Linked DNA regions of Homo sapiens: region 2 is linked to region 1. The links are contacts of gene promoters, found by promoter capture Hi-C in human tissues and cell types (Jung and others, 2019). All regions are on one chromosome and are shown on one strand. Each heading gives the region's core, a stretch centred on a gene start or on the middle of the fragment in contact. The rest is flanking DNA. Distances are from core to core; before and after follow the strand shown.

Region 1 (3,092 bases), core at 162-2,661:
CTTAAAAAAGACGGCTGTCCACCAGAGGCGTTCTCACTACCTTCGTGTTTTCTCAAACACTTGTTCAAAAACACATTTAAGTGGAATGTTTTCGTTTCTGGCGATTGCATTAATGATGGGTTTGCAAACCCTGCAAGCCCAGGAGGACGGCTGGAGCTGGGGGCTGCAGACACCCGGCCTTGGCCCAGCGGCCGCCGCGGGTTGGCTTGGCCGGCGGGGGCTTGGCTCAGCCCCCTCTACATAGCTCCTCGTTTGACACCGCGTGCGTTGGCCGGGCCAAGGCTGTCGCATAGAAGTTACAGCTCAGAAAGAAAAACACACAGCGGTCAACCGCGGTGACCCTCGCGCTCAGGAGCGCAGCATCCCTGCCACGAGGAAGAACCCAGAGGCCCCGCAGAGCGGGGAGCCGCCGCCTGCCTCCAGTTCTGTCCTGAGAAGGGAAGAAAGCGCTTCTCTAATAACACTCAGGCCCGTGAAGAATCATCTGTAACCTCATCTGCTTCTTCCTCGGCTCACTTACGAGGGTCTCTGGGAGAGTCAGACCCACGAGTGGGGCCCACGACTGGCAGCCCCTTCAGCCGGCGAGAGGCCCGGGATCCGCGCGGCGCACGAGCCCAAAGCGGTCGGGAGAACACGCTCCAGGCCGGGTCCCCGTGGGCGAGGTGGGCGCCCAGTCCCGGCGGGTCTGTCTTGGCCTTGGGACAGTCCGCGGGGCGGCGCCGGCGCTCCCAGACCTGGTTCCCCACAGGCTCAGGCCCAGCAGTGAGTGCGGGACACCCGAGCGCACCCGCAGCTCCCACTTGTCCGGGGTCTGCAGGACCCCAGGATCCTCTCACAGCCGGGTCAGAGCCCCCGAGGCAGGTGGGGTCCCAGCCGGGTGGAACCCGAGGAGCCCGTCGCAGCCGCAGCAGGACCCCGGCGGGCAGGGTCCCCAGAAGCCCATCCCAGCCGGGTCCCAGGCGCGCACGCTGCGTCCTACCTGCTCCAGCCTCGCCGGCAGGCGAAGGCTCCACGGCCCCCGGGGCCACCTGCTCCCCGTGCCCAGGCGCCTGGGCCTGGAGCGGGGCGCGGGGACCCGAACCCGGCCGGCTGCAAGAGGCGGCACCACTTGAGCTCCAGGTCCCGCGGGCCCGGGCTTACCGTGAGCGCCGAGAACTTCTGAGCGGGCACCGGCGGGAGCAGCCCAGCGAGCAGCGGCAGCCAGCAGAGCTGGGGGAGCAGCATGGTGGCGGAGGTGGCGGGAGCGGGAGATCGGCCGCGTCCTGCGCCCTGGCACTGCAGCCGGGAGAGCCCAGTGGGCGAGCGCGGCTGGGCGGGCGCGTGGAGGGGCGGCTCCGCGATGCTCTCCCCACCGCTCCCGGCGGCCCGGCTGGAGCAGCTCCCCTGCAGGCACCCAGAGGTCCTCCGCGTTCTTTGCGTCCGCCCTCGCTCCTGTCAAATACCCCGGAGCTTCCCGGATCCTCCCCTCCCGCCCGCCTCTCTCCCTCCCCCTCTCCTCCCCCAGCCCCACCTCCCAGCGCCCGCTGCCGCGCCCGCTCCGCTCCGGTGCCCGCTGCGGCCCAGAGGCCTCCCTGGCGCGGGTCTGCGGAGCGAGAGGTGGAGCGGGGGCCACCAGGGCTGCGCAGTGGCCTGTCCGGGCTGTCTCTGTGCCTCCTTCCCCGCGCGCACTCTCACACACACACGTGCACACTTACACACACGCACACCCAGGCACACGCACGCACTCATACCCACGCGCGCGCACCCTCGGGGGGCTTCCAAGCACAACCACGGGACGCACCGCGCCCTCCTCACGCCCCAGGGTCCAGGCCCGGTCCGCGCAGGATCAGCCCAGCGGGACTTTTCATCCACAAAGGTTAACGCCAAGCCTTGGCCGGTCCCCAGACTCCGGGGTTCTCCTTGACCTCTGCCCTCTAAGGCCCCCTGGTCCAGCCCAGAACATTGCCTCTCAGAGGTGCTGAAGGATCAGCGGCGCTCCAGCAAAGGCAGCTGGGAACACATGTCCAGGAAAGGCTGCGCCGGGGGCAGCCCGCCTTTGGCATCTTTACACGGGGTTATCCACTGCAGGGATGGGGGAATTTAGGTCCTAAAGATCCGGGGTCTGACCTGGGCTGTAGCCTTGATCCTCTCAAGTCGGGGGAGCATGTGGTTGGGCATCATTCACAGACACATGTGGCTGTTTTTAAACAGCTCTGTCAAAGCATTTCAGGTGTTTGTGCGGGGAGCACAGGGCTTGTGGAGGTTGTAAACTCACCCACGAAGACTACGTTGGAAACCAGGAAATTTTTGCACACCCAGACTCTGGATAATATCCACTGCAGACAACATTGCTGACATAGTTTAGCCTTGGCTTATAACTTTACAGGAAAAAGCCCTAATTCTGTCTCACACAGAAAGCCAGAAGAGTGAAGATTTGTTCAAGAACAATGAATCAATTGACTTGTCAGGGGCATTGGGAAAAGCACAAAACACAGAAAATCCAAATCTGAGGTTTCATCCGATGTCTAGCCCACTGCTTTGGCTATGAACTTTGGGGGAGGGGGCTGTATCAGCAAGTTCTGGGACTGGCTGCTGAGGCAAAGGCAATGCTATTGCAACCTTTCCCACACAATTTTATCAGGAAAGTGATGTCCGTCGGGCCACGGAAAGACGGGAAAGAAATGCACCTTTTCCTGAAGGAGGGCTACTCTCAGAATTCTCCTTAAAATTCCAAAGCCCAGGGAATCTATTAAGCACTTAAACACATTCCTCCTGGTTTAAGGACTTAGAAGGAAATTATAATAAAACTCTTGAGGGACTGCTCCTGGGTCCAGAAAAACAGGTGAGCAGAGCAGCTGCAAATGATTAAGTAAATAGGAATCACTGTTAGGGAACTGCAGTGAAAATTAAAGTAAAAAGAAAATAAACACTACATACCACTAATTCTAAGATTATCCAAAGAATAAAATTTACACTCGAAGCTGACATACTTCCTTTAAGAAGTATTTGCTACTAAAGAACCTGTTTTTCACTTTCCACTTTGTTGAGAGTACTGCTCGTCAGAACTCAAAAGTTTGAAAGCATGTTCATTTATCCACCATCGTCCGCTGCAA
Region 2 (3,092 bases), core at 159-2,658, 140 kb after region 1:
AATTTCACCTGCCCTTCCTGAAATCTGCTTCCTAACAGAAGGCCAGAATCTTCCTCAAGCTTTCTAAACACCTGCATTGAAATTTAAAAGGATGATTCAAACCCACTCATGGATGGGGGTGTTATTGTAAAAGTTAATTCACAGGGTATTTTATAAAAATGACAACATTTTTATAATGAAGCGTGGCTTCTCCAGGACCACTTAGCAGGTGAGGCTGTGACGACAGCCCCGTAGCCTGAGTCCTCGTCCTCACTGAGGACTGTGGGCGCAGCCTCAGTCCACGCATGTTTTTGTAGCTACCGGGCTGAAGACGTGGCTAGGAAGTTCCATTGAGTCACACATTCTGCTCACTCATTGGTGCTTTTCGCAGGAGCTTGAGTGCACTCTCCAGAAAGTGCAAACTTCCTGTTCATCCTCCGTGGTGACCTAGCTTGTATCACAACTCTAGGCAGCTCCGACTCCGTGTTGCAGGCCAAGATCACAGGGAATCAGCCCATAAGGAGAGTGAGTGCAGTGGGTCTGGGCTCCTCAGGGTTTTCTGACAGTGCCCGTCTTTTAGAAAGCTAGGCGTGGTTTCCTAGACATTCAGCTTCCAACCTGCAGCCCGGAGGGGTGCATTCCAGCCAAGCGAATTCCTTCCTGCTCCGCACAGTCCTGCAAGCTGACCAGGAGAACCATGCAGACTCCAGACAAAATGCAGCCGTTGCATCGGGGGCAGGAAGGGTCCTCAGTGATCTGACAGTCCAAATCAATCAATCAATCAATCGTTCTCCTTCCCTTGTCTCTCCATCCTCTCTCTCTTCCTCAATAATGTGCTCTCTGGCTTTTGCTTTCTCTCTCTCTCCCTCTCTCATGCTCTCTCTTTCTCCCCCATTTTAACTGTGGAGGCCCAAACATGCATTTCAGTTTGCCTGAGGCCCAAGGCCTTGCCAGTGCTCTTCTACTCTCCAGTAGCTTTGGAGTAAAGAAGTAGAATTCTCACAGATTCCATGGGGGTCCTCGGAGGGTTCCCTAGCCCTCCTGCCCCGTCTACCCGGCACCCTGGCTCCTTGCCTCCGCTCAGTGTTCTGCGGGACCAGGCAGCCCAGGACAGGAGGACAGCTCTGTCTCCAGTTCCCATCCCGCCTGGCCTCCTCATAGCCTGGCTGAGTCGGCTTCCTCCTTCATCAAATGAAGCTGATAGCTCCTCAGGATTTGGAAGGAGGCGTAAGCTGGCAGTTTGAAAATGGGACCCACATCTGTCTGTGCTCCCCACAGTAGGGGCAAGGGGTGAGTCGGCCCAGGTTATGGCCTCCCTATAGTGTGCAGAGTTGGTGAGCCTCCCTGACCCATCTGCAAACATCGCCCAGGCACCACCAGGAAGAGCGGGCAGATGCCACGTGCAGGCCCAGGGCAGATAGCAGCCTGGGGAAATGCTTTAAAACACAGTTAACAATTAGAACGCCAGTCATAAGAAGCCCGTTTTTGAGAGGGCTGACGACAGGGTGCTGATGGGCGTGGCAGAGTCTTAAGCACTGTGAATTCAGAGAACAGGGATATTGCAAGAAGGCCAGGTGGCCCAGGCAGGCGCGCAGAAAGAGGATGGATGGAGATGCCCTGTGGTGAACATTCGTCTCCTGAATGTCTTATGTTCTGTGCATATTTTTCCTCTAAACAGACATAATTGTAACCACTCACACAGAAGCAGAAATGAACCAGGAAGCCCACTAAGGCAGAGCGTGGCCTGTCATTTGAGGGGGTGTGATTGATTAGATGACGGGGGCAGACTTCAAGTGCGTTGGAAGACAGAGGAGCTGTTTCCCTCTCTCTCAAGTGATTAAAAAGTAGACAATGTAGAATTTGACTTCCGGGGTCTTTAGAACTAACTTCTAGCATGCTTACAATAAAAATATTTTAACAAAAATAAAAATAACAGGATAAAGTTGCTCTTTATCCTTTCTATCCTAAAATATCCTATCCTCTTCTATCCTAAAATGAAAGGATAAAGAATTAAAGTTAAGCTAAAGTAAAAAATATGTCAGGAATTCTAAATTATAAGAATTTGTGAAAGATTTAATTATAATATTAGGGAAAATGTCCCAACCTACTTTAGCAAATCATACGTTATCATTGAAGAAAACAGAGCGTATCATTACTGATCAAATTCAGGAATATAAGCGGGCACCCCAGCAAAGTTTTCTCTCTACATCCTCTTGCTCCAGCTTGTAGAATAATTAAAGCCTGTCTTGGTCCATTTTGTGTTGCTGTAACAGAACTGGGTAATTGAAAAAGAAAAAAGGCTTATTTGGCTCATGATATGCATGGCTGGAAAGTTAGACAGGCAGTGGCATCTGATAAGGCCTTTATGCTGCTTCTACCCACGGTAGAAAGCAGAAGGGGACCGGGCGTGTGTAAAGAGACACATGGTGAGAGAAGAAGCAAGAGACAGAAGCCGAGGAAGCCATTCTTTTAATCACCTGCTCTCTCGGGAACTAGGCCATTCCGCCAGAGCGAGAACTCACTTAGCTCTGAGGGACTGTGTTGGTCTATTCATGAGGGTTCTGCCCCCATGACCCAGAAACCTCCAGGACCCACCTCCCAACACCACCACATTGGGGATCAAATTTCAAATTTTGGCAGAGGTTTTGGTGGAGACAAACCACACGCAAACCATAGCAGAGCCCTCTTATGACAGAATCCGAGGTTCTGTACAGTTACTGGATCCTAAACGTTAAATACATAAAGCCTGATGGAAAACGGGAGCGCATCTGGAATGGATTTAATGCCGTCCCACCTTACGGGTCAAGTATGTATTTAATCTCTGCGAATAAATGAAAGATCAGTGAAAAAAGGGCAAAATTATTATATAATACAGATTTCATGTGGCTTTAATGTGATGGTGCCTAGTTTTTAAATGGTTGATAAAAAGTATATTTATTTTTAAAGATTAAAGTCCACAAGAATTTGTTGACTGTCTTTTTCAATCACTTGCATAGTTGGCCCTGCTAGGCTTTGAAATGATGCTGTAAACTGGGCATGTTCACACACCGCGGCCCTCAATCACGTCACATGGGCCCCGCCACTATCCAGCAGACACAGCCCTTTTCAAAGGG

Evidence for each region. Contacts are between HindIII fragments. The study calls those that stand out against the background at their distance.
Region 2: a fragment that was not itself captured here is called in contact with the fragment with the promoter of SMOC2 in region 1 in 2 of the 25 tissues and cell types used here (bladder and spleen).

Annotation. Positions count from the first base shown.
Region 1 is chr6:168,439,503-168,442,594 of GRCh38, reverse strand. It overlaps SMOC2 (SPARC related modular calcium binding 2), which reads right to left and starts at 1,411. Exons shown (of 13, transcript NM_001166412.2): 1 at 1,141-1,411. The coding sequence starts at 1,224. The HindIII fragment of the contact is 15,076 bases long and covers 1-3,092 here.
Region 2 is chr6:168,302,816-168,305,907 of GRCh38, reverse strand. It overlaps a transcript of DACT2 not described here. Among named protein-coding and RNA genes, the nearest start is that of DACT2, 15 kb to the left of the region's middle. The HindIII fragment of the contact is 6,763 bases long and covers 1-3,092 here.